7 separate regions of the Homo sapiens genome follow, and regions 2, 3, 4, 5, 6 and 7 are each linked to region 1. Evidence: promoter capture Hi-C in human tissues and cell types (Jung and others, 2019). All regions are on one chromosome and are shown on one strand. Each heading gives the region's core, a stretch centred on a gene start or on the middle of the fragment in contact. The rest is flanking DNA. Distances are from core to core; before and after follow the strand shown. Region 1 holds the start of LRTM2 (leucine rich repeat transmembrane protein 2). Region 2 has its middle 7.4 kb from the start of CACNA1C-IT2. Region 3 overlaps CACNA1C-IT1 (CACNA1C intronic transcript 1). Region 4 has its middle 5.2 kb from the start of WNT5B. Region 5 overlaps DCP1B (decapping mRNA 1B). Region 6 overlaps WNT5B (Wnt family member 5B). Region 7 has its middle 12 kb from the start of MIR3649.

Region 1 (4,044 bases), core at 655-3,154:
GGGCTGGGCTCAGGGTGGTATTCCCAGGCAGGGCACAGGAGGCTTGGCTGGGGGAAAAAGGAGGAAGACCAGAGGGGCAGACAGCCTCTATGCTGGCTCCTTTCTCCTCTGCCCACCCCCAGAACTCCCAGACACCCCCAACCATCACATACATGCCATCCCCTCCTCCTTCCTACACTGCCCACTGAGGCCATAGCAGCCCAGAGGCGGCCCCTGGGCTCTGGTGCCTGGGAAACGGGAGCAGAGTTTGCTCCTCGTGGGCCCAGACAAGCTTCTGTCAAACCCCAAAGACACCAGATCGGCTGCTTAAGCAGCCTCTCTCCTTACCCCTCCCCGCGGGCCTGGCTTTCCTGGTCTCCCTCTTTTGGCAGTGCTGAGACTTTCTTTCTGCCGGTGGGGAGGTGGGGGTGGGAAAAGCTGGGCTCTTCTTGGCAGCTCGGAAGCTGCTGTCGGGTTTCCCTACCAGCTGGACTTCCCCCGCCTCAGCTCCACGTGCTCGGCTCCCTCCCCGCCCCCACCTGAGGCAGTTATCTAAGCTGCAGGGGTGTCATCTGAGTCACAAAGAGACACTGCCCAAGTAGCCCTGACAGCCGGGTGCCAACACCCCCCAGAAATGTGGACAGCTTGGGGGTGGGGGAGAGACAGGGCCGCCAACTGGAACCCAGCCCCAGACCTGCAGGGAGGTGCAGGAATGTGAACTTCCGACTCCTGGTCAGGCTGCTCCTCTCTCCAGCACTGTCCAAATGGGTCTGGGGGATTGAGAGCAACTGTCCCGCTCTACTCAGGGTGTCCATGCCCCCTGTGTGGGTCAAGAAGCCAGGCAGGCCTGGCCCCGCTGTGTACCCCCCACCCAAGCTCAGTGTCCAGCCCCCACTAAGGCTCCCTGACCCATTTGCAGATGGACGGCTGGGTGCACAGCTGCGGGACACCCCAGCAGGTTCTCGCGGGCCTGGTTCTCCTGTCTTGCCCTTGGGCTAGCAGGGAAGGGCTGCGATACTTCTCTCTCCTGCCCACTCCCAGCCTCACCCTCACCAGGGAGGCTTCATGCACAGCTGAGTGGGCCCATGCTCATCTGGGGGAGGGTTCCTCCACACCCTTGTCCAAGGACAGCCACCTGCAGGCAAGCTATAGGGAGGCCCAGGACCTGGGTCTGTGCCCATGCCTCTGACATCCAGGACCTCCTCCCTGCCACCCTCCACCCCAAGCCTTCCTCTGACCTGGCCCTGTCCCCAGCACCTGACTGCCATCCCAACCGCTTCCCATGACCCCCGAGTTTCTTGGGGCTGTCTGTGCAGAGCCGGGCACAACGACAGCACAAGGCTCTTGGCTGCTTCTCCCATGCTGCAGGGACCGGTTTCTATGCCACCCGGGACTGTCATCTGGCGCCAGCGCTGCCCTCCTCCCCACTTCCCAGCAGAATCCACAGCTCTTGTCCCCAGCACTGTGGGCTCAGAGTTCCCAGTGTCGTGCACCTTTGGGATGCTCAGGTGCCTGAGCCCGAGCAGCTTCTTCGGCCCCAGCAATTGCCTGCAGGTAGGAAGCAACTGCAGCTATTCCTGCAGGGCAGAGATGGCCGGTGCCCACTTCCCATGCCCCGACCACCCCCTGTCCCCACCAACCCTCCATTCCTTCCTACCAGCCACTCGGTACTCACCCGTCTTTACTCTGACTGCAAACGCCTTCAATCAGGTGGCTCTCAACCCTCCAGTAAGACCCTCCTGGGATTCCTATAGAAATCCAGACACCACCGGCAGGCAGAGCGCAGTGGGCACTGGTGCCAGAGTCTCCACTCAGCGGGAGCAGCGGCTGGCACGCAGCACACAGCACCAGGAGGTGGACTGCTTGTGGCAGACGGGGGACGGGGCTGCTGGGTCAGTCACAAACTGAGAAGGAAAGAGAGGGATGGAGGGAGAGAGAGAGAGGAGAGAGGGAAGAAAGGGGCGAGGGAGGAGAGCGCACGCGTGTGCGCGAGCAGCGAGCCAGAGTGGAGCGGGGAGTGACAGCTGGGGTGCATCTGTGATGACAGCGGCAGCAGCACACACAGGCGCACACCAGAGGCACCACGGCCGGCCGCGAGGGCAGCGCTCACCCTGGCCACGCTCACATTTCAGTGGAAAAAGGCGCCTGTGGATGAATCGCTGCCGACCACAGGGAGGAGGAAAGCGGTTTCACCACCACCTCCATCTTCCATCCTGCGCCTCCAGGCTCTCCCTCACCCCCCCGGCTGCACCTGTCTTCTGTGCCTCTCTCCTCTCTTCCCCTCCATCTGGGGAAAGAGGGACAGGCGCAGACACAGAGCAAGCGGCTGACTTCTGTTCCGATGGAGGCCCCCCTGGGAAGCTGGTCTTTCTCCTGTTTTAGAGACATGCGAGGCAGAGTCTCCCATCCTGCCTGAGAGAAGGAAAAACCGAACCCTTCTCTCGGTCATACGAAAGAAGGGTACACAGGCATGTCCATGTGCCAGATGACCCTACAGGAAAGGGCCCTGAGCCCCCACAAAGCCAGGGATCACATGGTCATGCAGAGGTCACTGAGCCTCAGGGTCTGACCACCCGACGCCAGGACTACTTAGGGAAGCAGAATGCCAGAGTTGGCAGGCTGGGAGTTTGGGCACAGGGCAGCCTGCAGCAGCAGCCTGCAGACCGTTCTCAGTGCCAGGGACGAGCTTGGCTTCTCAGGGCTCCTTGCTCTTATCTGTGATGGGTCAGGCATGCGAAGGGAAGAGACTGTCATTCAAGAACTTGGAGGCCTCTTTCTTAACCAATCAGGACAAAGCAAGTCAGAAAAATTGATATCCTAAGAGATGGGAAGTGGCTGATCTGAAGGCCAAGTGAGTCAGGGACCAAGCTAGAGGGGAGCCAGGGCCCCACCAGCCTGGAGCACGAACCCTAAATCCCCCTTCCTTTGCGTCCACTGCCTGTAGACAGATGAAGCACCGTGCTAGCGATATATCACCGTGTCCTATGTCCCTCTTCCATTTTGCCTGCTTTGCTGGAGGGGTTCACAGCCAGGACTGGGGTGGGTGTAGAAGAACCCCCTGGACTCAGGATGCCCCTAGAAGGATGCTCCTGCTCACTCCCTTCTGTCCGTTCTGCCGGGTCCCCGGGCAGCACAAGGCTTGAGCTGCAGTGTCTTTTACCTCTGGGGAGTCCCGCCTCTGACCTCTCATGCTGGTGCCTCCCACACATCCCACTGTCAAGCAAAAGAGGCTCCCACCTCCCCATAAACATACTTCCTGCTTCTCCATCTCCATGAAAGCGTGTTCTTCCCTGGGCCTGAAATGCTCTCCTGCCCATGGGTGGCTTCCCCCTTCCTTAAACGCCCCCTGCAAGGTGACGTTTCCCCGGAACACCACAGGACTGGCCCTGCTCCTCCTCCGATCTCTGGCATTCTCTTTGGGCCACCCTCATGTTGTGCAGGAGCTTTCTGTGGTCTGCTTCATCTCCTTTCCTTTTTTTTTTTTTTTTAATTTTTTTAGTATTTATTGATCATTCTTGGGTGTTTCTCGGAGAGGGGGATTTGGCAGGGTCATAGGACAATAGTGGAGGGAAGGTCAGCAGATAAACATGTGAACAAAGGTCTCTGGTTTTCCTAGGCAGAGGGCCCTGCCGCCTTCCGCAGTGTTTGTGTCCCTGGGTACTTGAGATTAGGGAGTGGTGATGACTCTTTTTTTTTTTTTTTAATTTATTTATTTATTTTTTATTGATCATTCTTGGGTGTTTCTCGCAGAGGGGGATTTGGCAGGGTCATAGGACAATAGTGGAGGGAAGGTCAGCAGATAAACAAGTGAACAAAGGTCTCTGGTTTTCCTAGGCAGAGGACCCTGCGGCCTTCCGCAGTGTTTGTGTCCCTGGGTACTTGAGATTAGGGAGTGGTGATGACTTTTAACGAGCATGCTGCCTTCAAGCATCTGTTTAACAAAGCACATCTTGCACCGCCCTTAATCCATTTAACCCTGAGTGGACACAGCACATGTTTCAGTGAGCACAGGGTTGGGAGTAAGGTCACAGATCAACAGGATCCCAAGACAGAGGAATTTTTCTT
Region 2 (4,044 bases), core at 843-3,342, 220 kb before region 1:
AAAGTACAGGCATATTTATGCTTGTATTTATATTGAATAGCTTATGCAAACTATTCTTATGTGGATGAATCAAGAACATGCTAACAATTTCCCAAGTGGCCTTCGAAAGTGATTGGAGTAGTGTAGGACATCTTGAAACTTGTGTACAAGTCATGATTTAATAGAATTCATTTCCAGACCCTCAACTTTCATATGTGCTCAGTCTTCACGTTCACCGGAGGACAACCCGGGGCAGAGCCTGGAGCCCACCTGCCGCTTCTCCTGTCTCTCAAAGGGGCATCCTTATCCTACACTTCAGCAGAGAAGCACACCTGTCATTCACCCTGCATCCTTCCAGGTCCATATCCCTGTGGTGTGAATGCCCCCAGGACACCAAACAAGGAAATCTAGGAAATACTGGTGCCCAGACAAGGAGACATTTGAAATACAGGTGTCTAGAAAGCCTCTTGAATCGGACAACATATCCCTTCGATCATGTAAAATATATTATTTCTGGTACATTTTATATTAAGAATTACCTCGAAAAGCTCATAATGTAAATATGTTGTTTTGCTCAGTTGTACATTAATAGTATCTGTGATGAAAATTCAATCCAAAAGAAGCGTATAACACAAAGCCTTATGTTTATAAAATTTTTAAATTTTAAATTTTAATTTATAAGCCTCTTTTTGTTGCAGAGTAATATGGTAGCGTGATCAGTAAAAGACTTTCCAGCATAAAAATATATCGTATTAGGGTAAAATTTTAAGAAGGAAATGGAATGTAAATATGTATCCAAGGAGAAAAAGAAATGATGAAAAATCTTTGACTGTTAAAAACAGGGCTTTTATATATCTTTGAATACATAATAGAAGGTATCAAATAGCTGCAGTGTTTATATTTTATTGGAAACTTTAAAAGAGTAATGCAACAATTTTATGTTAAACTGTCAAGATTTATAAAGCACCAGAAATTGCATCATTTACAACCATTTAAAATTATCATGAAACTTTTGGGATGTCAACTTGAAAACGCATGATGAGGCACAGACTTTTTCACAACTCTTTTGGGGGGATCTGCAAGCAAAGCACTGTGGAGGCCCTGGGTCAGCACAGGCTGCAGCCCCGTAAGGTCCTGGCTCGGCAGCCCCGGCCACTGAACGTTGGTTCAGGCTGCTGCTCTTCACAGGGAAGGCCAGGGCTACAGACCTTGGCAGATAAGTAAATGTTCATAAAACAAATGAACATCTCTGCTTTCTCATTCTCACTCTGTCTTCTATCCCCAACATGATCTTGAACAAGATGCCTCCCTTCTTGGGGTTTGTAGTCTTCTTGAGATTCTTGGAGAAAGCAAGCAAGGTGTCCTGTGGTCACATTATCCCAGCGGATATCAAGAATACCCTTAGCGGGCCGGGCGCAGTGGCTCATGCCTGTAATCCCAGCACTTTGGGAGGCCGAGGCGGGCAGATCACGAGGTCAGGAGATCGAGACCATCCTGGCGAACATGGTGAAACCCCGTCTCTACTAAAAATACAAAAAATTAGCCGGACGCGGTGGCAAGCGCCTGTAGTCCCAGCTACTCGGGAGGCTGAGGCGGGAGAATGGCATGAACCTGGGAGGCAGAGCTTGCAGTGAGCCAAGACAGCGCCACTGCACTCTGGCCTGGGCGAAACAGCAAGACTCCGTCTCAAAAAAAAAAAAAAAAAAAAAAAAGAATACCCTTAGCATCACTGTGACCCACACACCCCTAAGCAGTCTTTTTCAACCCAGATTGTTTGGATTTTATTCCACAACAGAGTCACTCAATTTTAAGTATGTTTTTAACCCAGAAAGGCCAAACAGAGCAGGCACTAGGACTTCACTGCCTATTTCTACCCTTTCAATGTTTGAGATGGAATTTTTCTCAGCCTCAGAAGAAATACTTTCAGTTCTGGCCTTCAATCAGGATTTATTGGACAGATCTGATTCTGCTGTATTTTCATTTACAGCCTAGAAGACAAAAGTGTCAGGTATTAGAAAGAACTCTGAGTTTAAAGCTTGTATCTATTACCACTTGGCTGTGTAACTTTAGCCAGGTCTCTTAATGTTCTTTGAGTATCAGTTCCCTCAACCATAAACCAAGGAACTTTCAAGGAATGGATTCTGAGTACAAAGTGAAATGTTAGTATGAAAAAGCTTGTCAAGGAAAAGTATAGACATAGCAGGGTACTTATTACCACAAAGATGGAATTTTCTGTCATCTTTGACAATCCATTGAAGCACCCAATAATCTTTCTTGGTCCAACCTGAATATCATTAACCACAATTCCAACCATTTTCTTTTTGTCTTTTATTCCTCTTTGGAAAAAGAGACTAGTTGGTCACCATCTCTTATGTAAGAATTAATTGTCTATTTGAAAAGAGGATGCTTAAAACCAGTTCTTCAGAAGTGAAAGTCAAGGTATTCGACATCTCCACATCACCCAGCCTACCGCTTAGACTTTGATAACAAAATTCTCTCACATTTCTTATAAAAGTCTAATTAAATCTCAACAATTTTATCCATGTAACCATTTTCTGCTTGAAAATTTCCCTTAAAACTCTGAAAGTAAATCCTATAGGGGAGGTAGTTAGATCAGCTACATTATTTGCTGTCACTTCTATGCATTTAGTGAAGGCTCACCAAGATGGATGTTCTGCAGAGAGCAGTTCAATGTTAAAAGAGTTTGGGAAGCACAGAGCTAAGAACATTTCCTATCACACAAAGACCTCATTTAAGCCATCTTTGATAGTTTCTACAATACCCAAATCATGAATGTTAAAAACAGAAACAAACGAACAAAAAAAAAATAGATGGAGTTTTGCTGTCCATCCTCAAAGTCTTAACTCTCTCCCTGCTGAAGTCATGGGTGTGCCACAGCTGGGTAGAAAAGTACCTGGATGGGAAAGCAAGTTGAATGAAGAGGTGATGACTTGAAAGAAAAATCTAGTGCCGTCAGGCTTTCCATGGCATCCAAGTAGATGCATTGGTCTCTGCCATCCTCCATCTCCTCTTTGCATAAATCCTACCCCCATCCCCATCTCCAGAAGCACTCTCTCTACATATATAGGCAGCCAACACTGACATGATGCCCCACAGGAACCCAAGAACTGTAATCCCAGCTCAGGCACAGGGATGCTCACCCCTATGGCCCAATGGTCCAAAATCATCCCTTATTCCTTCTCCCCTCCCACACCCAAACTGCAGACCTCCATCCTTTGCATCTGTGTGCAAACTCCTACTCATCCTTTAAGACTCAGCTCAAGAGTCCCGGGTCAAGTTCTTCTTCCTCTGTGTTCCCATAGAGCCTACCGCTATCTCTATCAAAGCACTAGTTATATTGCTGTAGTTATTTGTTTACCTCCTGTATTCCCAACTAGACTCTCAACATCTCAAGGGCAAGAACGATGTTGTACTTACCTTTGAATTTCCTTTACCAAGAATAGTACTTGGCTCACAGTAAGTGCTTAATAAACATCTGATGAATAAATGAATGATTGCTCTATCTATCCTGTTGGTGGTAGAGAATTAATCCAAAAAATATATTGCTAATGGTGCAATTTCAGGCATATTACAGGCTGGTAAAAGAGAAATTTTGAAACCAAGAGACCTGCCCTACTTCTATCAATCATCTCATAAAAGTATCTACATGAAAGGCTGCTCTTGAGCTGGTAGCTAATGTTCCTGGAAAAACTCCCTGGCAGGTTACCCAGGGAGATTAGTTTAAAGGGAGGTTGTTACACTTGTCCTCTCATCATTGTTTAGTGAGTTACTTAGCCAAAAAGATCCTCTACCAGGGGATTGGAACTCTGCATGAAAGTTTCAGCTCTTATTTGTCTATTAAAAGGCCCATGTTATTTGCAAAGGGCTGTCTGTTGGCCTCATAGACCAATATTCACAGCACCTGTCTTTTGCAATTTCCTACCTATGGACATTGTGTTTACTTATATAACATTTGCAATCCTTGCATTTAACAGTGTCCCATTTGTAACACCTGGATTTATCAATTTCCACTTCCCAGCATCTGTCTTTTACAGGCTTTTTTTT
Region 3 (4,044 bases), core at 548-3,047, 200 kb before region 1:
CAAAGTGCTGGGATTACAGGTGTGAGCCATAGTGCCCGGCAAAAATGAGTGTCTTTATAAATTACCCAGTCTCGGGTTTCTGGTATAGCAGCACCAAATTGACTATAGTGCTCTATCTCTGTGTTTAAATTACCTGTAGCAAATTCTGACTGCTCTGCCTATAGTGTAGGTGACCCTGAGCAAGTTATTTAAGCTCTCTGAGCCTCAGCTTCCTCAACTGTAAGATAAAAATGACAACATAAAAAATGATCTATGCAAAGCTATTTGCAGTTGGTTATTATCAACTATTATTATTACCTAGCAAAAAGGCAGTTGATTAAGAAATGTACTGAGTGATAATTAGTGATTAGGAAGCATTTGTGAACGCAGTATCCAGAAATAATTTTACCATTAGGGAAAAATAGTTGACGTGTAGATATTTTCCTACTTACCCTGGAAACTATTCTATGAAAGACTTTTCATGTATGGCCCCAAGAAGTCAGTTCCTGGCCACTGAGCAGAAGTTACTGGTAGGCAAATATGGGTTCCATACAGGGAAGAACTTTCTAATTCACCATCTGTTGAGAGGAGCTAATGAGTTCTTCATGGCCAAGGGCATTCAAGGAGGCTGAACCACCACCTTGTCAAGATGCAGAGCAAATTTATGTATTAGGCAGATGGCGTTCAAATCTCCTCCACTCCTGAGAGTCTATGGATTTGGTGCAATTTCAGTGCTTCTATTCTGTAGCTATGATGTCTAATTTTATTCCTCCCATGGCCCTCCACCAAATCAGCCCTTCTGTCTTCCCTTCTTTCCTGCTCAACCATTTTGTTGTAGCCAAGTGTACTTATAGTCCCAGGAAGCTTTACAGCATCTAGAGTTCTCCTTTCCTACTGTCTCCTCTGCTGCCGTAAGTAGTCCACTTTCTCCCATTCCACGGCATCCTCTATTTTTATTCCTTTATTCTTGTTATATGCATGCAGCCTTACTTCAGGAAATTTGTGCTGATTACATGACATGAGAGGGGAGGAACCAGAGCTAAGGGTGCAAGGCACAGGTTTGGAGACAAACAGCCCTAGGCATCCAAACCAGCTCTCTCAGCTACCAGGGGTGACACTGGACAACTTATTCAATCTCCCTGATCCTCAGTATTGTATCTGAAAAATCTAGAAAATATTAGCACCCACTTTATAGAGTTTTTCTGAGGTTTCGATGATCTAATACAAGCAAAGCGCTTCACATGGTATCTGGCACATAAGTAGTCCTCAGTGAAAGTTAGCAGTTGTTATTATTGCTGTCCACCAAAGAGCATTTGTTAATGGCATCATATTCTTGCCTCCTTCAGTTTCCAAGAGAAGTGTGTGTGTGCACTTATGTGTGCATGTGAGAGAGGGAAAGAGAGACACAGGAGATACACACACACTGTCAGAGAGAGAAAGAGAGAGAAAAAGTTCTCTGAAAGAAATGTATACCTTTAAACATTTGTCTTTCATACTATTTTAAAGCTCACTCTCCATATTCATGGTGCAATGCTGCATAGTAAGAAACATAAAAAGAAATTTAACAAATGGTTCCTCCCTGCAGAAAGTTTAAAAACATGAGAAATAAACAGAAACATAAACCATCTACCACTGATATCTTCAGGATTCAATTAAGTGGTAAATATTAAATACATGTAGGTACATATTTCATATTTAAAAATACTTAACATATTATGGACACTAAAAACTAAATCAATCTGTGAGCAAATCAAATGATTGCTATAGTTAACAGTATCCTCTCACAAAAATACCATGTTACATTAGAAGCCATCTAGATTTTCTTTTTCTTTCTTTCTTTTTCTTTCTTCTTTCTTTCCTTCTCTTTCTTTCTCTCTCTCTTTCTTTTCTTTCCTTCCTTCCTTCCTTCTTTCCTTCCTTCCTTTCTTTTCCTTCCTTCCTTCCTTCCTCCCTCCCTCCCTCCCTCCCTTTCTTTTCTTTCTTTGTTATGTTTATTTTAGATACAGGGTCTTGCTTTGTGGCCTAGGCTAGAGTGCAGTGGCGTAATCATTGCTCACTGCAGCCTTGCACTCCTGGGCTCAAGTGATCTGCCTCAGCCTCCTGAGTGGCTGGGACTACAGGCACGTGCCACAACACCCAGCTACTTTTTAAAAATTTTTTGTAGTGATGGGATCTCACTATGTTGCCCAGGCTGGTCTTGAACTTCTGGGCTCAAATGATCCTCCCACCTCAACCTCCCAAAGGGTCAGGATTACAGGTGTGAGCCACTGTACCCAGCCCCAGATTCCATTTCTAATCCTCAGTCAGCTCCAACTCTGTTTTTCCCTTTGCCCTGCCAACCTATCAAACCATAGACTCACCGAGTTCAGAGCCAAAGATGTAACTCAGAGAGTCACCCAGTTTGGTTTCTCCTTTTTCCCCTTTAACAGCAGCCATGAGAATCCCATCTGTTAAGGGAGAGTGACACATTTTGCTCCCTCATTAGATAATATTTAGGGAAGGGTTAAATGTTTTTTTTATTAAAACCTTGGGACCACTTCTTTAGCTGGTTCAGTTTATTTGCATGTTTGTAGGAGAGCTAGGTTAGGAAAGAAAATCCAATGTTATCGTAAGGGAAAAGTTCTGTCTTCTGTTTCATCACGATCATTCTACTCACATGTAAATTTTGAGCACAGTACTATATTTTTATAATTAGATTTACTATATATTAAGTCAAGCTACCTGTCCCTGCCAGGTACTGGCCAACTGAACTGAGTTTTCTTCCCAAATTAGTTGAGTTGTGCTTATTAAGACAGAGGGCCTGAATGAGCTCCGTCCCATCATTGGCTGCTGCCCTGTGCAACGCCCACGCATGGCTCCATCTCAGCTGATGGAGGAAGCGCTCGTCCACAGCCATAAACTTCAGCTTTCCTTGCTCTGTTGCTTTCATCCTGACTGCCTCTCAACATTCTAGCTTCCCCTCTCCAGCCGTGGTGTACTGGAGCCAGCTTGTACTAGTTTGTGAGAGAATATTGTTAAATTTTCAGAAATTTTGCCAGCCGATTGTTCAACATGGCCAGTATAAAAACCGAATTATGTGAACTTACAACTAAATAAATTATATTAGAAACAAAGAGAATAAATACTCAAAAACTCCTTCCTTCCTAATTATTTTACCACATTTTACCATTCCCTTTGCTCTCAAGGTTGCTTATCATACATGTCAGCCTATGCTATCCGCGTGGTGGAAAGAGCACACCACGGTAAACCACTGCTCAACTCTCCCTAGCTCCCCTCGCAGCAGTGTTTACGTGGACATTCTCGAATCAAGTCATTGTGAGAGTATTTACAACAGGGAGGTCAGCAAATGTGACATATCCGGGCTTGATTTATTGTTCTGTTAATTGTTTAGACCACGCGTCTGCAACCTCTGGCCTGTGGCCTGTTTTCCTGTGTCCCTTGAGCTAAGAATGGTTTTTATGTTTTCAAAGGTTTTAAAAAAATATTCAGAACCTCCCATTGGTAGACACAATAGTATTGTGTTGAGTCCGTGTAGAAGGCAAGCAATGGTTTTTCTAATTTGTGGTGCTACTGCCTTCAAGCCAAAATGGGAGCCTCCCGCTGGGCTCTTCTTGCCTCTTCTGTCTCCTTCCTAATTACAATGAGTCTGGCATGAGGACACACCGACAGCTGACTCTGATGGAGCACAAGGCAAATGGAATGCAGTCCTCTCACTATCACAGTCATACTAGTTCCACAGAACCAATAATAGTAAAAATATTTTTATCAGTAGAGGCATTAGGTCAGAAAAAAAAAAAACAGAAAAAAGATACATTGACTGAAACCATGCTTACATCACCATGTTTAGTGGGTATCTGGCAATTATCCAGGTAATTGGATCCTAAGTAGCCAGACCATCTCTTCTCCCCTCACTCCCTGTGAAAAACTCTATCTGGAAGCTTAATGATCTACATTACCAAAATTAACTGGGTAGCTGTAAAAGCTAACTGAGTTCTTTTATTTTTTAAGGGTGATCAGTTATCTTGTATCATTCTGAAACCCATAAATGCTTGAGCGTTCTTGAAG
Region 4 (4,044 bases), core at 796-3,295, 200 kb after region 1:
GGAGTTCAAGGCTGTAGTGAGTCGTGATTGTGCTATTGCACTTCAGCGTGGGTGACAGATTGAGACCCTGCCTCAAAAAAAAAAAAAAAAAGAGAGAGAAAAAAAACAGGCAGGGTGCGGTGGCTCATGCCTGTAATCCTAGCGCTTCGGGAGGCTGAGGCAGGTGGATCACTTGAGGTCAGGAGTTTGAGACCAGCCTGGCCAACATGGCAACACCTATCTCTACTAAAAATACAAAAATTAGCTGGGCGTGGTGATGGGTGCCTGTAATTCCAGATACTTGGGAGGCTGAGGCAGGAGAATCGCTTGAACCTGGGAAGTGGAGCTTGCAGTGAGCCGAGATTGCACCACTGCACTCCAGCCTGTGTGACAAAGTGAGACTCCGTCTCAAAAAAAAGAGAAAAAACAAAAGAATAAAAGTACATTTGCAATTTTGTTAACATTCCTGGCATAACAGGGTAAACCATCTTAGCAGTCTTTGGAAAGGAAATGCTTCCCTTTGTGAACTCCTGGCTGCATTGCTGTTGAAGGAGGGGCCTCAGACTGGATGATTTCCATGGGACAGGGGAGGGGCAGGTGGAGGAGGAGCAGGCCTTGCTAGCTGGAGTCCTGTGGCTTCTCTCCCTTTGGCCACTCATTTCTCGTACTGTAGAGAAAGACTGTTTATGGACCTCAGCACAATAGACAAATACCTCCTAAAATGTACATCAGGTTCACTCATTTCCTTCCCAATTTCCAGGTGAGTACTCACCCTTCTGGCATCTGAACACCAGAGTAGTTCTTCGTGGTCTCACTCACAAGTGCACATAGACACAATACCAGTTTTCCCTAAAATACTAATTTTACATCATAATATTCCCCTATTTGAAAACGTATAGTGGTTCCCAGTTCTTTATTTCCAATGTGGCCTCATCTTACCTCTCATTGTTTTCCTGAATTTCCCAACATGAAGTCTCCTTTTCCAATGTCCTTCTACTCCTAGAACAAACCCCACTTTTCCCCCAAGACCTCATTCTGATCCTCTTCCCAAGGAAGCATTCTCCTCTGCTCTGCAGCAATCCAGATATTAAACTACTTTCACATCCAGGCTCAAGATTCACTCCCTCCATAAAACTGTGCTTGATTAACCCCACCCCATGAGAATCTCATTCTCATGGGTTGAGACCGAAGAGGTCTCAACCTCTTCGGCCCTTATGAATCCATGTATCTGGTCTGCACCTCCCTACCCCACTTATGCTGCCTTGGGCTGTTTCTCAGGTGAAGTATATACTTCTTACTTCTCTAGTAGATCAAATGCTTCCTAAAGGTTCAAACTTACCTTTTCTACTTTCTCTGCGAGCCCCTTTGCGCCCAGTATGGTTTTACTCAGCAGTAACAAATGTCTTTTGATTGATAACCAGTGACAATAGCTAGTATTAATCAACATTTATTGAGCACCTCTTAGTGCACTGCACTAAATGTTTCACATCTATTTTTCTCATTTAATCTCTGCCAACATTTGTGGCATATGCCATTATTATTCTCACTTTGAAAACAGGGAAACTAAAATTAAGTACTTGTTCATACAGCAATTGAATGGTTGACCCTGGCTTGGAATCCAGATCTTTCTACTCTTCCCCAAATACAGGTCCTCCCTGTCACTAGAGCATAACACCTTCTCTGCTTTCTCTTTTTTTTTTTTTTTTTTTTTTTTGAGACAGAGTCTCACTTTGTTGCCTAGGCAAGTGGCATGATCTCAGCTCACTGCAACCTCCGCCTCCCGATTCAAGTGATGCTTGTGCCTCAGCCTCCCGAGTAGCTGGGATTACAGGTGCCTGCCACCACGACCGGCTAATTTTTGCATTTTTAGTAGAGATGGGTTTCATCATGTTGGCCAGGCTGGTCTTGAACTCCTGACCTCAGGTGATCCACCTGCCTCGGCCTCCCAAAGTGCTGGGATTACAGGCGTGAGCCGCGGTACCCAGCCTCTTTCTTTTCTTCGTTGCACCATTGCCCTGTTACTACGGCTGCGAATAGTGTGAAAGTCAGAAAACAACATTCTGATATGCAGGAGATATCACAAAAAGCAAGGTTTACAAAACATGCAAAGTTACTAGTATTAATACACACACTTAGATACACACACAGCCTTGTGGGCGGAAAGAACTAGACTTCTCCCCTAGCCAAAATGATATGTGGGTTGAGAACAGGCCAGGCTGCTTAAAGCTGGAGGAATTAAAACATAATAGTTTTAAAGAGTTGGTACTTAGTTTTACTTTGGGATGGAAAAGACAAACCAGGTCAAGAGCTATGGGTCTGGAAGGGTGGATCCTGGTTTGGTGTGAGGGGCTCATGGAAGATGCAGAGGTGAGGTACAGAGTGCACGTGAAGAAACATAAGGTTTGGAGAGAACGTGGAGGGACATTTTAGATTGGCCTTAACAGTGAAACTCACCAAGAAACTATGTCCTCAGCAAGAAAGGCTCTTACTTCGATAGCACAAAACTGTCTTGCCTTTCAGTAGATATAGCGATCGAGGAGCTCTGTTCAAAGCTTAGATTTGACCATGTGACTTCTTTGCTTAAAACCCTTCAAAGAGGCCGGGCGCGGTGGCTCAAGCCTGTAATCCCAGCACTTTGGGAGGCCGAGGCGGGCGGATCACGAGGTCAGGAGATGGAGACCATCCTGGCTAACACGGTGAAACCTCATCTCTACTAAAAATACAAAAAATTAGCTGGGTGTGGTGGTGGGCGCCTGTAGTCCCAGCTACTCGGGAGGCTGAGGCAGGAGAATGGTGTGAACCTGGGAGACGGAGCTTGTAGTGAGCCGAGACTGTGCCACTGCAGTCCGGCCTGGGCTAAAGAGCGAGACTCCGTCTCAAAAAAAAAAAAAAAAAAAAAAAAAACAACAAAAAACCCTTCAAAGGTTTCCTATCTCCTAAAGGATGAGTCATAACTCCTCACCCCATTACATGACGCCTTCCAGAATCTGGCCCCGCCAACCTTTCCATCCTCTTTAGGATTTCATGCTGTGCTTTAGAACCCCAAACTCCTGATACCTCCTTACCCAAACCCATCCTGTTTCTCCCCGCTGTGCCTTGCCGACTTCTGGGAATGGTTTCTCCTCTCTCTGTGCAGAGCAAGCTCCTTTGTCATTGAGGCCACACCTTCCAAGAGGCCTTCTCTAACCATCTCTGCCAAAGAAGGCCCCCAGCAGCATCATTCTATTTCTAGCTTCTCACATGTTTTAGCCACAGCATTTAATGTGACATGGAATAGTGTGGCATGCTCATCTGTTGTGCTTTTGTTTCTGTCCCTCATATGCTCTGGAAACGGTCTTATTTACCATTTTCTCCCCAGTGGATAGGATAGTACACAGGGGTATGTGGGAGTTGCTAGAAAAATATTTGTTGACTGAAAGAAAAGAAAAGCCCTCCTCTGGCTCTCAGGGAAAGAGGAAGCAGGCCACGAAGGCCAGCCTCTCATGAAGACAAGGAGAGTCCCTTCGACTTCCATACAACTTGGTCCATTTGCTGTGAGGAAGCTGCTTGACTGTACCTCCCCTTATCTGAGAATCCACTGCTAATTGAGATTTTGGAGATTCCTGGTCCCAGACATAACTCTCTGTCTTTTCCTCAAAGACATAAGTAACATTCAGCTTCTAAGAGTAAAGGCTGGCACTGCTTAATAAGATAATGTAAAAATGTGTAAGACCTTGGGGAGTGCCCCAAGGTGCATTGGTCTAGCTGGGGAAAACAGAAAACCTGCCCAGAAAAGTACACTATAAGAAGTGTCATCTACTAAAAATACAAAAAATTAGCCGGGCGTGGTGGCGGGCGCCTGTAGTCCCAGCGACTCAGGAGGCTGAAGCAGGAGAATGGCGTGAACCCGGGAAGCGGAGCTTGCAGTGAGCCGAGATCACGCCACTGCACTCCAGCCTGGGCGACAGAGCGAGACTCCGTCTCAAAAAAAAAAAAAAAAAAAAAGAAGTGTCAGAAGAGCCTAAGGGAGCAGCTGTACTCAGGATGTGGGATTTGAGTAGGGCCTTGAAGAATATGAGGGCTTTT
Region 5 (4,044 bases), core at 769-3,268, 170 kb before region 1:
ACGAAGAATTAACGAGTCTGCTATGGCACTTTTTCTTTATGTATCACTTTTGGCCGAGTGAGCTGACAAAGTGTTTGAGGGCCTGTATTGTAGGAGTGCCATCTTCTGAATACAAGTAAATAAAAAATCAAAGTCCAAAAAGTTTCTTTCAGTCATTAAGAATTTAATAACCCTTTGTAATGTGGAAGTCGTAGTAGGTAACTAAATAGTCCTTGTCAGATTTGAAATGAAGTAGCCATCGCCTTTCTCATACTACATTTTACTCTCGTATCGTTTCTGACCACTTGTGTTGCACTGCTGGTCAGCCCAGAGGAAGATTGCTGAAAATATGCCAGTTGCAGGGACATCTCTACACACAGAAAACAAGAACATAATACTCAATATATAAATACATATGTGTGCACACACATGCACCTTATGCTTTGTGGACAGCTTTCATAAAGACCTTGCAGTGAAGAAATGTTTTCTGTATATTTTTCATCCTACTCTTTGAACTCAAGATACATGAATTTGCCTACCATATACTATTCAGTGTAATTTTAATGAGTATAATGTAAATAATATTTGACATTTTAACCCCAATGCATCATTAAGATGCATTAAAATGATGCTGTATATAATTGTCATAATAGGTGGTTATCCTATTATTTAGAGAATAAATTTTTATGAGAGAAAAAAATAAAGCTATTGAAACTATAATATGACTTACTAATGGCAGGTCCTGTGAAATGAAAAGTTTTGCAATATAGAAAAATATTGTGTTTTCTCCTCATGTTTCTTTGCCGAAAGGTACACTTTATCAATTGTAGTTTATTACTAAAGACTTGGAATTCCAACTCCAGGACCCTTTCCTTCTCTACAGAAATGCCAGTTTGAATTGTTTATAGTTTGAATTGTTTTGTGTGCTTATAGTTATGTCAGGGTTTTTTTTGAGATTATTAGATTTTATGTCAAATTAATATATAATTTAAGTCCTAATAAAATAACTACAAAGTTACCTGTAATCATCACTTTTGGTTGCTTTTATTTTGGATAAATACATGGTCTGATCAGTTATAGGTAATATTTTATTTTAAATTCTTATTATAGATCACATATTAACTACTATACCAAAAATATAAAAACACAAACTCTCTTTAATGCATCAATTTAAAAAATAACCTTCTTAAGTCCCACAGGGTTTATCTGATAGAAAATACTATTTAGATCTAATAAACATACACCTTGGTTCTAAGCGTGTGCTGTCCACTATGATAGTCACTAACTACTGTGGCCGTTTAGTACCTGAAGTGTGGCTAGTCTAAACGGAGCTGCACTGTGAGTGTCCAACAGGCACCAACTGTCAGACAGTGCAAAAAAAAAAGGAAAAAACCTCAATTATTAATTATTTTATATTAACATGTTGAAATGACAATATTTTGGATAAATTGGGCAAAATAAAATATATTATTAATTTCACTTGCTTCTTTGTATTTTTTAATTTAAAATAACAGATGTGGCTCACGTTCGTGGTTCCCCTCATATTTCTATTGAATGGCACTGTTCTATTTTAATTTGTTTTTCATATTTTATTTTATGTTTCCGTATTTTATAATGATTTTCATTTATTTTACCATGTTTAATAATCACAATTTTGTGGAGTAGACATTTTCATTGCCATTTTGCAGATGAGGAAACTGAGACTCCAGTGAGGAGGCAGACTGTGTAAAAACCCACAGATTCTGATTTCACTTCCGTTGCTTTTTCCACACCACCTGTACTGCTCTACTATTAAACATGGATGCAAATTAAAGGTAGCCTTTGGGATGCATATTAAAATGTTTCTAATGAATTTCCATACAAAAGAAATAGAATCAGTTGAACAACAAAGAGTGAAAGGGAATGGATCTATTTACTTTTCTGGATTCATTTTGCCTTTTTTTTTTTTTTGTCCTTTCTATCTGATACTGATTGCCTTTGCACCCAGAGTCATTTGGTTTTATGTTGTTTGCAAAAGCCTTTTCAATCCCGGGCATCAAAGGTACACAGAAGGGTTTACCACAGGTGCTGTCAGAGTGTCAGATACCTCTTAAACGTTTTAATAGAATTCAAATATGTTATATAATAATTATGTATGGTTTACATGTTCTTTGGTGGCATATAGATTGGTTGGCCTTTCTTTGGGCAAGGAACTCAGCTTTACTCAGGATTGTTTTTGTAAGACTATTTCCTCAAGATATTCTGTATAGTCAAGAATCTCTCTGTCTGGTCTTTGCATTTCACATTGGCTTATGTATGTCATAGGCCATATTTGGGCATTTCAAATAGACAAAGGTAGAATTGATAGAGGTTTGTGGTGAGGTTTTTTAGATTCATTAGGAGAGAAAAAAAAAATCCCTTTCTTGAATTGGATGAATGTAGAAGAGCAAAATAAAGAAATGAAAATCCCAAACTCTCTTCATTTAATCAGCCAAAAAAAGATGCTTGATAAATAGAGTAACTTCATTCAAACACAAAATAGATTACTTTATTACAGAAAAGGGTTTATACATTGTTTAAAGGGTTTAAACATTGTTAAAATGGGGTTTGACCTGTATGAACTTTAAAAGTAAGTAAGATAGCTGTTAAAGTTAGGGCAAACATTTCATTCATTCATTTATTCAACAAACATTTACTGTCTGCCAAACACTATGTTCAGGTTTTATATGGGTTATCCCATAACTTTTTCTTGAAAATACTGTTATTCCTGTTTTATAAATGAGAATACTAAGGTTAAAGGGATTAAGTGATACGCTGTGGTCCATGACTATTTTGAGATGGAAACACCACTTGAACCAAGAAACCTTAACTTCGAGACCCAAGGCCCAAGCAGTGAAGTACTAGCAGTAAATAATGCATTTGAGCCAAGTTTATCATTTACAAACACTTAGTTATTTTAGAGTACGCTCCAAGGTTTAAAAAGCAAGTTTTTTTAGCCTTGAGATTCAAGCATATATCAGTTATTAGAGAGATTAGTTTTTACCAGATTAAAAACTAATTTAACAAAAAGCTGAATTAGACCACTTCTTTTGTAATATTCCCATATAGTAATCACTTACTGTGTTTTTCATTTCGCAACTAAATAAGATATTAGCATATGGAAATATATTTTCCCAAATATAATACTTAAGTTATAGACAGCAATGACATGGGGATTCCTTTCTTTTCTTGCTTTTTCAATTGAGACGGAGTCTTGCTCTATTTGTCCAGGCTGGAGTGCAGTGGCACAATCTCGGCTTATTGCAGCCTCCACCTCCCAAGTTCAAGCAATTCTCCTGCCTCAGCCTCTGAGTAGCTGGGATTATAGGTGTATGGCACCATGCCTGGCTGATTTTTGTGTTTTTAGTAGAGACAGGGTTTCACCGTGTTGGCCAGGATGGTCTCAAACTCCTGACTTCAAGTGATCACCCACCTTGGCCTCCCAAAGGGCTGGGATTATAGGCGTGAGCCACCACGCCCAGCCCCTTTCCTTTCCCTTTCCCTTTCCCTTTTCTTTCCTCTTTCCTTTTTCTCTTTGCTCTGCTCCTGCTCCTGCTCCTGCTCCTGCTCTGCTCTTTAGAGACAAGTTCTTGCTCTGTCACCCAGGCTGGAGTGCCATGGCATTGGTCATAGCCTCATTGCAACCTTGAACTCCTGGGCTAAACCGCCATATCCAGATAATTTAAAACAACCTTTTTAGAGACAGGATCTTGCTGTGTTTCCCAGGCTGGTTTCAAATTCCTGGCCTCAAGTGATCTTCCCACCTCAGCCTCCTGAGTAGTTGGCATTACAGGCGGGAGCCACCATGCCCAGCTGACAGGGATATTTCAGAGCTAGGCCAACAAGTTGAATATAGGATATAATCCACAGTTATAGGATTGCAATGAAATTCTTTTTAGATGCTGGATTTTATTGCAGATGTAAACCTGAAGTTTAGATCAAATCAGAAAAGAAAAACTTAAGATATTTAGGACCAAAACTATTTTAGAAAACTCCTCCTAAGTCTTAAAGTGAATTTACCATTTTGGGTAGTTTTGTATGAAAAAA
Region 6 (4,044 bases), core at 1,056-3,555, 170 kb after region 1:
TGCTGAAAGCCTCCCCACCACCCGGTTTCCACACCAGCAAACCCTCTCTTGCCCCGAGTGATTTGAGTCTGTTTCTTTCTCTCTCTTTCTCTCTCTCTGTCAATACTGCAGTTTCCTTCTGGCTTTGGCTGTGAGCAGCTTTCAGTCTATTTTCAGTTCTCCTGTGGAGCAGCAGATAATACACATACATCTGTAATTCTTAAAATCTCATTGGAACCATCCCTCCTCCCACCCAGTTGTTTATCACAACGACTTAGAAGGCCTAAATTAACTGATTCAGCTCTGTCTTCTACTGCTGCTTCTGGTAGGGCTGCAAATGAGCAGCATGAAGACCAAAAGGCCTGCAGCAAGAGGGAGGAAGCAAGGACTGGAGAATCTACGTGAGGAATGCCCAAACTCTGCAACAAGCTAGAAAATTAACTGTGGATGGCTTCAGTCTTCCACACTGCCTGACGTCTGATCCTCACTGCTGGGCCCAAATCTTCTTACTTCAGAGAAAAATGGGCAAGCTCCCATACTTCTTATGTAAAACCAGAATTAAAGCACCCACCCTTTACTTACTGTTTTAGTATAAACACAATGCAGAGATTCTTACATAATAAAGAACTAACAGTAACACTTAGCAACCATGGCTCACAGCCCTTCTCAGCTCCCCAACATTCCTTCTAGAGATATGAAGCCTGTCATCACCAGCCAGGCAGAGGACAAACATTTCCAATAAAGATAGACAACCCAGGCTCTGCAACGTCTCAGCCAGAAGTGTTGAGTTGTTTTTAATTTTTTACATACTCCATGCCTCTGGTGCCTCTCCACCTCCACCCCCAAATTAATGAAAAATACTCATTTCCAGACACACACATAGAGAGACACACACACACACACACACACACACACACACACACACACAGAGGTTCTCCCAAAATCCACCTGCCCAGTGTCAGTGGTGTCTGGCAATGGAGCAGAGTGTTTCAGATGGAAACACTATTTTCCACACTCTCGGGGTGGTGTGGCTCTCTGCCAAGGAATAGGCTTGTCTGATAAGCTACTGCATCTGTAAGATCTCTATCTCATGGAGGACATCTTGCTAGTTCCTAAAACTGCAGGGGATGACGGAGCTTAAATACGATACTAATGATTAAAGAGAGGAAGCAGGGCAGAATTTCCAAGGCAATAGCCAATTTGAGGTTTCAATACAAAGAGCAAGTTTTGTTTCTCACCTCAAAGGATGGAGAGTGGAAGAGAACAAAATGGGCTCTCCAAGTAAGGACTTTGAATCCAAGTTCTGGAGAATTTGTCCATGATGCTTGGATGAATGGAAGCCTGCCCTAACCTCAACCATACCTGTGACTGCCTTCCTATCCTCCCATCCTCTAGCTGTCCATCTGTCTTCTTATTAAATGGAGGCAGTCAGGCATACCTTTCTCTTAATTTTTGAAGATAAGGCAAAGACAAATAGCTAAGAACATATCGCCTTATGATAGACATTCAGGAAATAGATCAGTAGGTCTCTACCCATCGTAGGCAGAGGAGGGAGGGAACATCCCAGGGCAAATCAGTTCTGCCCTGTACCAGAAAGCTCTTTCCAACGCATCAGCAAGGTTCCCTGGGATGGCTGGGACTGCTTGGTCGAGGCATTACACCAATGTAATGATCTGGTGAGACTACATGTTGATTATAACACATTTCAGGTACTAGGGAACCCTGCCAGGGGCTGCAGAGAGCACTGGGCTGGGAATCAGGACCAGGCTTCCTGCCTCCCGGCAGGTCTTAGCTCTCCGTAACCGCAAGTCCAGTGTGGTCTTTGAGCTAACAGCATCGGATCCCTTCAGGTCCCAGGCTCTGCCCCAGACCAGCTGAATATGAATTCCTGGTGCTGGGGACCCAGCACTCTGCATTTTTACAAGCACACTAAGGTGTGGGACCTGCTCAGGATCTGGAGGTTCTTATCTGGAGCCCCAGAAGCTTAAGCTGTGATTGCCATGTTCCCTTCCTGCTCCAACATTCTGTGATTCTGAGCAGAAGCTCACTTGCTTTTCTCAGGTTGGTTTCCACATTCTCCAGCCACATTCCTACAGCGTTACTGGTCACTTCACAGACAGGATTCCAATCCACCAGGATTCAACAAGCAAGTAACAAGTAACTATACCCGTATGCCAACCTACTTAGAAAAATAGGTCAGTGGATGCAACAACCACGCTGGTGTTTGAACACAACTTGCTCCCACATCAGAAAGAAAACTGATTCACTCTACCACTTGCCATGACTCTGCAGGAAAACCTTACTCTGATAAGGATTATCCATCTCCCTCCATGAACACGGAAGTGACTTCTGGGGATTGTGGACAATCATTCTCAGCTCATTTCTGGGGGCTTCTAAGAACAGGTTAGATTTCAGCTCTTAAACAGTTTGAGCACCTGATACAAAGTAATTCCCCAAACCTCTAGAACTGATGTGGGGAAGAACAGTGATGTTAGCCAGTGTTTCAAAACCCTATTATCATGGTTGATCTGTGCATCTGGATAGTTATGGTTAAAGGTGGTTAAGATGGTTAAATGTCAATGAATGAAGACGAGGACATGGTTTTCATCTTTTGTAGACCAATTCACTTCAATCATTTTTTTTTCTTTCGAGACAGGGTCTCACTATGTTGCCCAGGCTGGAGTGCAGTGGCATGATCTTGGCTCACTGCAACTTCTGTCTCTCAGGTTCAAACAATTCTCCTGCCTCAGCCCCCAAGTAGCTGGGATTACAAGTATGCACCACCATGCCTAGCTAATTTTTGTATTTTTAGTAGAGATGGGGTTTCGCCATGTAGGCAAGGCTGGTCTTGAACTCCTGACCTCCAGCGATCCACCCACCTCAGCCTCCCAAAGTGCTGGGATTACAGGCATGAGCCACCCTGCCCGGCCATAACTTCAATCATTTTCTTTCATGAAAATGAAATGTCACCTTGAAAGTATCAACCAAAGGAATCTGGGTAACAGTGTGAGTTAGCTACAGGTGAAATAACTCTAGGTCTGAGGTTCTTGGTTGGGTCAGAACATTCTCCCTCAGGTACTAAAGAGACAGGTAGTATGCATGGCATAAATGCCCTCAGGCAGAATCTCTTTTAAGCAGTTTTGCAATATCATTTGCTCATTATAACCCAAATTAACACATTAATTATTTCTCCAGAAATAAAGTTTTCTAGAATAAAACTGATGTCTTTCTGTAGTTACCGGCTCACCTGCAGGCTGGTCACTCTACAGCAGCCTGGCTCCATGTCTCCCTCAATCACTCCTTCCTCCCTTTTTAGGATAATAACATCTCCCTTCCTGGATCCTCAAGCTCAGCCTTACCCTCCTGGCCCCAGATACTGGAGTCCAAAATTGCAGACAGCAACACAGAGGAGACGGCAAAGGGCATCCCCATTACCCGTGCTTTAACAGGGACCCAGGGAACAAGCCAGGGTTCGCTTGGTAGGCTATCAAATAGGGGAAGGGAAAGAGGCAGGTAAATGTGAGGTTTCAATTTAAATTTCTGAACTCCCTTGTGTATAGCAGTAATATTAATGGCTACCACTTCCTGAGTGTTTAACTGTGCTAGCTCTTGGGGTGAATGCCTAAATGCATCACCTTATTTAATTCTCAAAACATTCATCTGTTCCTCTCCCTGATCACCAGACTATACAGTCTAAGGAGTCTCAATTTCCTTACCCTCATCCACACTGCAGAGCAGAGTTCTAAAGGCCAAATAAAAAATAAAAGGAGACTCATGAAAGATCAGCGTGGGTCCAAATAAGGAAAGGGAGCAAAACCTCCATGAAGGGCATTTAATGTCAGAGAGAAACCGTACACCTGGGGCAGAGATGATGAGCACGCCGGGCCCGCCAGCCTGACCCGTTGCAGCGTCCTGTGGTTTGTGAGGCCTCCCTCGGTGGAGGAGTGACAGCAGCAGCTCAAGCTTCCCCTCCCCGGGGGTGGGGGAAGACAGTATAACGTCCACGCAGCCTGGTCATGCACCCTGGCTTCTGCAGCCCAGGCGCAAACATTCAGTTTAGGGCTT
Region 7 (4,044 bases), core at 711-3,210, 150 kb after region 1:
TTGGAATAGGCAATCATTTCTTAGGTATAATATCTAAAATGCAAGCAACCAAGGATAATTAGATAAATTAGGTTTCACCAAAAGTAAAGGCTGTTATGTATCAAGAAAGCGAAAAAACAACCCAAAATGGGAGAAAATATTTACAAATCATGTATTTAATAAGGGTTTTATATCTAGAATATATAAAGAGCTCCTATACCTCAACAATAAAAAGATAAATAACTCGGCTGGGTGTGGTGGCTCACACCTGTAATCCCATTACTTTGGGAGGCTGAGGAGGGCGGGTCACAGGTCAGGAGTTCAAGACCAGCCTGGCCAACATGGTGAAACCCCATCTCTACAAAAATATAAAAATTAGCCAGGCATACTGGCAGGCACCTGCAGTCTCAGCTACTTGGGAGGCTGAGGCAGGAGAATCACTTGAACCTGGGAGGCAGAGGTTGCAGTGAGCTGAGATTGTACCACTGCACTCCAGCCTGGAAGACAGACTGAGACTCTGTCTCAAAATAAATAAATAAATAAATAAATAACTCAATCTAAAAATGGGCAAAAGATTTGAATAGACTTTTCTTCAAAGAAGATCTATAAGAGGGCATGAAAAATGTCCAATATCATTAGTCATTAGGGAAATGAAAGTCAAAATCACAACAAGATACCACTTCACAGCTGGGCACAGTGGCTCACGCCTGTAATCCTAGCACTTTGGGAGGCCGAGGCAGGCAAATCACTTGAGGTCAGGAGTTCAAGACCAGCTTGGCCAACATGGTGAAACCCCGTCTCTACTAAAAATACAAAAATTAGCCAGGCGTTGGGGCAGGCGCCTGTAATCCCAGCTACTCAGGAGGCTGAGGCAGGAGAATCGCTTGAACCTGGGAGGTAGAGGTTGCTGTGAGCTGAGACTGTGCCACTGCACTCCAGCCTGGGCGACAGAGTGAGACCCCATCTCAAAAAAAAAAAGAAAAAAAAAAGGCAAATTATATGGGATGTAAATTTTATCTTAGTAAAAAACAAAATAACAGAAACAACACAAAAGATTAATGATATCTCACCCTGTCAAAGCAGGAAGGGATCTTAAATGATTGTCTAGTCAAACTGCATTATTTTAGAGAGAAAGAAACCAAGGTGCAGAGGAAGGAAGTGACTTATAAAAAGTGACACAGCTCGGGCCTGGCGCGGTGGCTCACACCTGTAATCCCAGCACTTTGGGAGGCCAAGGCGGGCAGATCAGTTGAGGTCAAGAGATGGAGACTATCCTGGACAACATGGTGAAACCCTTTCTCTACTAAAAATACAAAAATCAGCTGGGCGTGGTGGTGCACACCTGTAATCCCAGCTACTCCGGAGGCTGAGGCAGGAGAATCACTTGAACCCGGGAGGCGGAGGTTGCAGTGAGCTGAGATCACGCCATTACACTCCAGCCTGGGTGACAGAGCAAGACTCCATCTCAAAAAAAAAAAAAAAAGTGACACAACTCGTCAGCTGCAGGGTGAACATTGAGCCCCAGGACCTTTTACTTTTTTCTATATCCTTTAACATGTAAAATTTCAAACACATACAAAATTTCAAACACAAACACATACAAAAATGTCAAACACATACAAAAATAGAGCTAGCTCCCTGTATCTATACTCCAGCTTTAATAGTTATTAGTACACAGCTTTTTTTTGTTTTTTTTTTTTGAGACGGAGTCTCGCTGTGTCCCCCAGGTTGGAGTGCAGTGGCGCGATCTCAGCTCACTGCAAGCTCCACCTTCCAGGTTCACGCCATTCTCCTGCCTCAGCCTCCCGAGTAGCTGGGACTACAGGCGCCCGCCAACACGCCCGGCTAATTTTTTGTATTTTTAGTAGAAACGGCGTTTCACCGTGTTAGCCAAGATGGTCTCGATCTCCTGACCTCGTGATACGTCCGTCTCGGCCTCCCAAAGTGCTAGGATTACAGGCGTGAACCACCGCACCCGGCCCACAGCTTTAATAATTATTAAATAAGTATCAGTACACAAATTCAATTTTTCTTTTTTTTTCTTTTTAGACTGGGTCTTGCTCTGTCGCCCAGGCTGGAGTGCAGTGCACAGACTTGGCCCACTGCAACCTCCGCCCCCAGGGCTGAAGCAATCCTCCCACCTCAGCCTCCCAAGTAGCTGGGATTACAGGCCCACACCACCACGTTCAGCTAATTTTTGTAGTTTTAGTAGAGACAGGGTTTTGCCATGTTGCCCAGGCTGGTCTCCAGCTCCTGGGCTCAAACAGTCCACCTGCCTCAGCCTCCCAGAGTACTGGGATTACAGGTGTGAACCACTGCACCCAGCCACAACTTTAATAATTATTAAATAATTATTAGTACACAACCAATTTTATTTTATCTCCACCGTCACTCACTTTCTCCCCTCCCAGATTATTCTGAGATGTATCTCAGACATCATAGTATTCATCCACCAATACTGCGATATGTGCATAGTTTTTCATTTATTTTTCATGTATGATCTGTTTCTCATACACATACACATGCACACAAAAGAAAAAAAAAAGAGTGATCCCTCCAAAAAATGGAAAGCAATGGTGAGCAAAGAAACTAATAAAGCTTTAAATAAATCTAAACATGCATTCGCTGTATAACTGTATGTTACATTGATGATGGATATGTAAAGATATGAAGTATCACTGCAAAATAGCATGTTAGATAGGGTGGTGGTGTATGAAGTACTAAGTTCCTTGAGCAAGACTCCATCTCAAAAAAAAAAAAAAGTCAGGGTGTGGCAACAGTGTAATTGCTGGTGGCCTGACCATTTATGGCAGGATCTCAGCAGGTATGCAGAGCTACTATTCCGTGGGGAGGGAGTTGATGACAGCTAGTCAAGGTATGACAACTACATTCTAGAAGCTTAGAAAAGTTCCTGCTTTGGTAAGACTTGTTGATGGCACCTGAGCCACAGCAGTGGGGCTTAGGCTGAAGTTTCTGATCCCTGTTGTGGACCTGGGCAAGGGCCTGGTGGTGATGGGGAGCTTGCTTGGTATATGTCCAGCCTTAAAAGCTAGAAAAAGCAACGGCGGGAGCAGTGATGTCTGTGAAGCTGTATTGATAAAGTTGTTTTTTTTTAAAGGTGTAAAAGTAAACACATCTGAATCTCAGGGAAAAGCTACGCTACTTCAACTTCAGGATTCAGTCATTCCTGCTTGTTCAGAACCACAGGGTAAAATGAGCACTGCACTTACAAAGGGCTAATCACAAGCGAGGGCACTGTGGCGACCTTTCACCAGGTGTCAAGGTGTGGCGGCCTCTGTAGACCCATGACTCAGAACACCAGGCCAGGCACCATCTGGGAACACATCTGCGACTTCATATGAAAAAAAGGTGTAATTTAGTTGAAGCAATTAACTTAAAGTTGGTGAGTAAAGCCTTTTCGAATGAGCTGTGAGTGAGTGAGGGGGAGAGGATGCCCGAGGGGCAGTGTGGGGTTGCCTGCAGTGGAAGCGAGGCTGGCACTCTGCTACTGAGTGCCCAGGGAGAAGGAGGGGAGGACGCAGGCCAAGAACCTTTGGCCCCCAAGCAAGGCCTCCAAGGAAAACCAAAGGGCCGAGCTCGAGCTCCCCTTTCCTCCTGGTTTATTCTCTTTCCCTCAGGAGCCTGCCGGACTCCACCCTCAAATTCTCAGCCTGAGAAAGTAATATGATATTGGCACTCACCTCTCCAAATTCTTCCAGAAAGAGAGTCAGATTAGAGTGTGACAGGAGCACAGTACGCTTCTGGTCTGAGCTTTTGGAGGCCATATGACTCTAGAATGAGCCCGCCTGGTTTTTGTGAATGAGTCTAACTAAAATGAGTCCTCTTATTTTTTCACCAGAAAAAAACAAGATGTGTCAAGGGGCTCTTTGGGCTGTGAAAGGGCTGTATCCCAGCAACAGCTCATGATGTTTCTGACAACTTATTAGCATCTATTTGAGGGTGATTAAAAACATAATGTGGGGCCGATTGCGGTGGCTCACGCCTGTAATCCCAGCACTTTGGGAGGCCGACACGGGTGGATCATGAGGTCAGGAGTTTGAGACC

The links. The method cuts DNA at HindIII sites, captures the fragments that hold promoters and counts their contacts. A contact is called where the count stands out against the background at its distance.
Region 2: a contact is called between a fragment that was not itself captured here and the fragment with the promoter of LRTM2 in region 1, in 5 of the 25 tissues and cell types used here (adrenal gland, bladder, dorsolateral prefrontal cortex and 2 more).
Region 3: a fragment that was not itself captured here is called in contact with the fragment with the promoter of LRTM2 in region 1 in 1 of the 25 tissues and cell types used here (lymphoblastoid cells).
Region 4: a fragment that was not itself captured here is called in contact with the fragment with the promoter of LRTM2 in region 1 in 1 of the 25 tissues and cell types used here (spleen).
Region 5: a fragment that was not itself captured here is called in contact with the fragment with the promoter of LRTM2 in region 1 in 2 of the 25 tissues and cell types used here (dorsolateral prefrontal cortex and spleen).
Region 6: a contact is called between a fragment that was not itself captured here and the fragment with the promoter of LRTM2 in region 1, in 4 of the 25 tissues and cell types used here (IMR-90 fibroblasts, dorsolateral prefrontal cortex, mesenchymal stem cells and 1 more).
Region 7: a contact is called between a fragment that was not itself captured here and the fragment with the promoter of LRTM2 in region 1, in 3 of the 25 tissues and cell types used here (lymphoblastoid cells, mesenchymal stem cells and spleen).

Annotation. Positions count from the first base shown.
Region 1 is chr12:1,818,425-1,822,468 of GRCh38, reverse strand. It overlaps LRTM2 (leucine rich repeat transmembrane protein 2), which reads right to left and starts at 1,904. Exons shown (of 5, transcript NM_001039029.3): 1 at 1,655-1,904. All of the region lies in intron 26 of CACNA2D4 (calcium voltage-gated channel auxiliary subunit alpha2delta 4), which reads left to right. LOC105369601 (a long non-coding RNA gene) reads right to left here. Exons shown (of 5, transcript XR_931546.3): 5 at 3,663-4,044. RefSeq lists an enhancer at 1,588-2,334. The HindIII fragment of the contact is 8,239 bases long and covers 1-4,044 here.
Region 2 is chr12:2,038,918-2,042,961 of GRCh38, reverse strand. It overlaps a transcript of CACNA1C not described here. Among named protein-coding and RNA genes, the nearest start is that of CACNA1C-IT2, 7.4 kb to the left of the region's middle. The HindIII fragment of the contact is 5,912 bases long and covers 1-4,044 here.
Region 3 is chr12:2,017,394-2,021,437 of GRCh38, reverse strand. CACNA1C-IT1 (CACNA1C intronic transcript 1) reads right to left here. Exons shown (of 3, transcript XR_001749433.2): 1 at 3,146-4,044; 2 at 432-1,512. It also overlaps a transcript of CACNA1C not described here. Among named protein-coding and RNA genes, the nearest start is that of CACNA1C-IT1, 2.7 kb to the right of the region's middle. The HindIII fragment of the contact is 4,814 bases long and covers 1-4,044 here.
Region 4 is chr12:1,622,027-1,626,070 of GRCh38, reverse strand. It overlaps a transcript of WNT5B not described here. Among named protein-coding and RNA genes, the nearest start is that of WNT5B, 5.2 kb to the left of the region's middle. The HindIII fragment of the contact is 5,142 bases long and covers 1-4,044 here.
Region 5 is chr12:1,988,870-1,992,913 of GRCh38, reverse strand. All of the region lies in intron 3 of DCP1B (decapping mRNA 1B), which reads left to right. It also overlaps a transcript of CACNA1C not described here. Among named protein-coding and RNA genes, the nearest start is that of DCP1B, 14 kb to the left of the region's middle. The HindIII fragment of the contact is 7,991 bases long and covers 1-4,044 here.
Region 6 is chr12:1,646,966-1,651,009 of GRCh38, reverse strand. WNT5B (Wnt family member 5B) reads right to left here. Exons shown (of 5, transcript NM_032642.3): 5 at 3,798-4,044. Among named protein-coding and RNA genes, the nearest start is that of MIR3649, 11 kb to the left of the region's middle. RefSeq lists enhancers at 3,417-3,917, 3,918-4,044. The HindIII fragment of the contact is 6,657 bases long and covers 1-4,044 here.
Region 7 is chr12:1,669,913-1,673,956 of GRCh38, reverse strand. No RefSeq gene overlaps it. Among named protein-coding and RNA genes, the nearest start is that of MIR3649, 12 kb to the right of the region's middle. The HindIII fragment of the contact is 4,477 bases long and covers 1-4,044 here.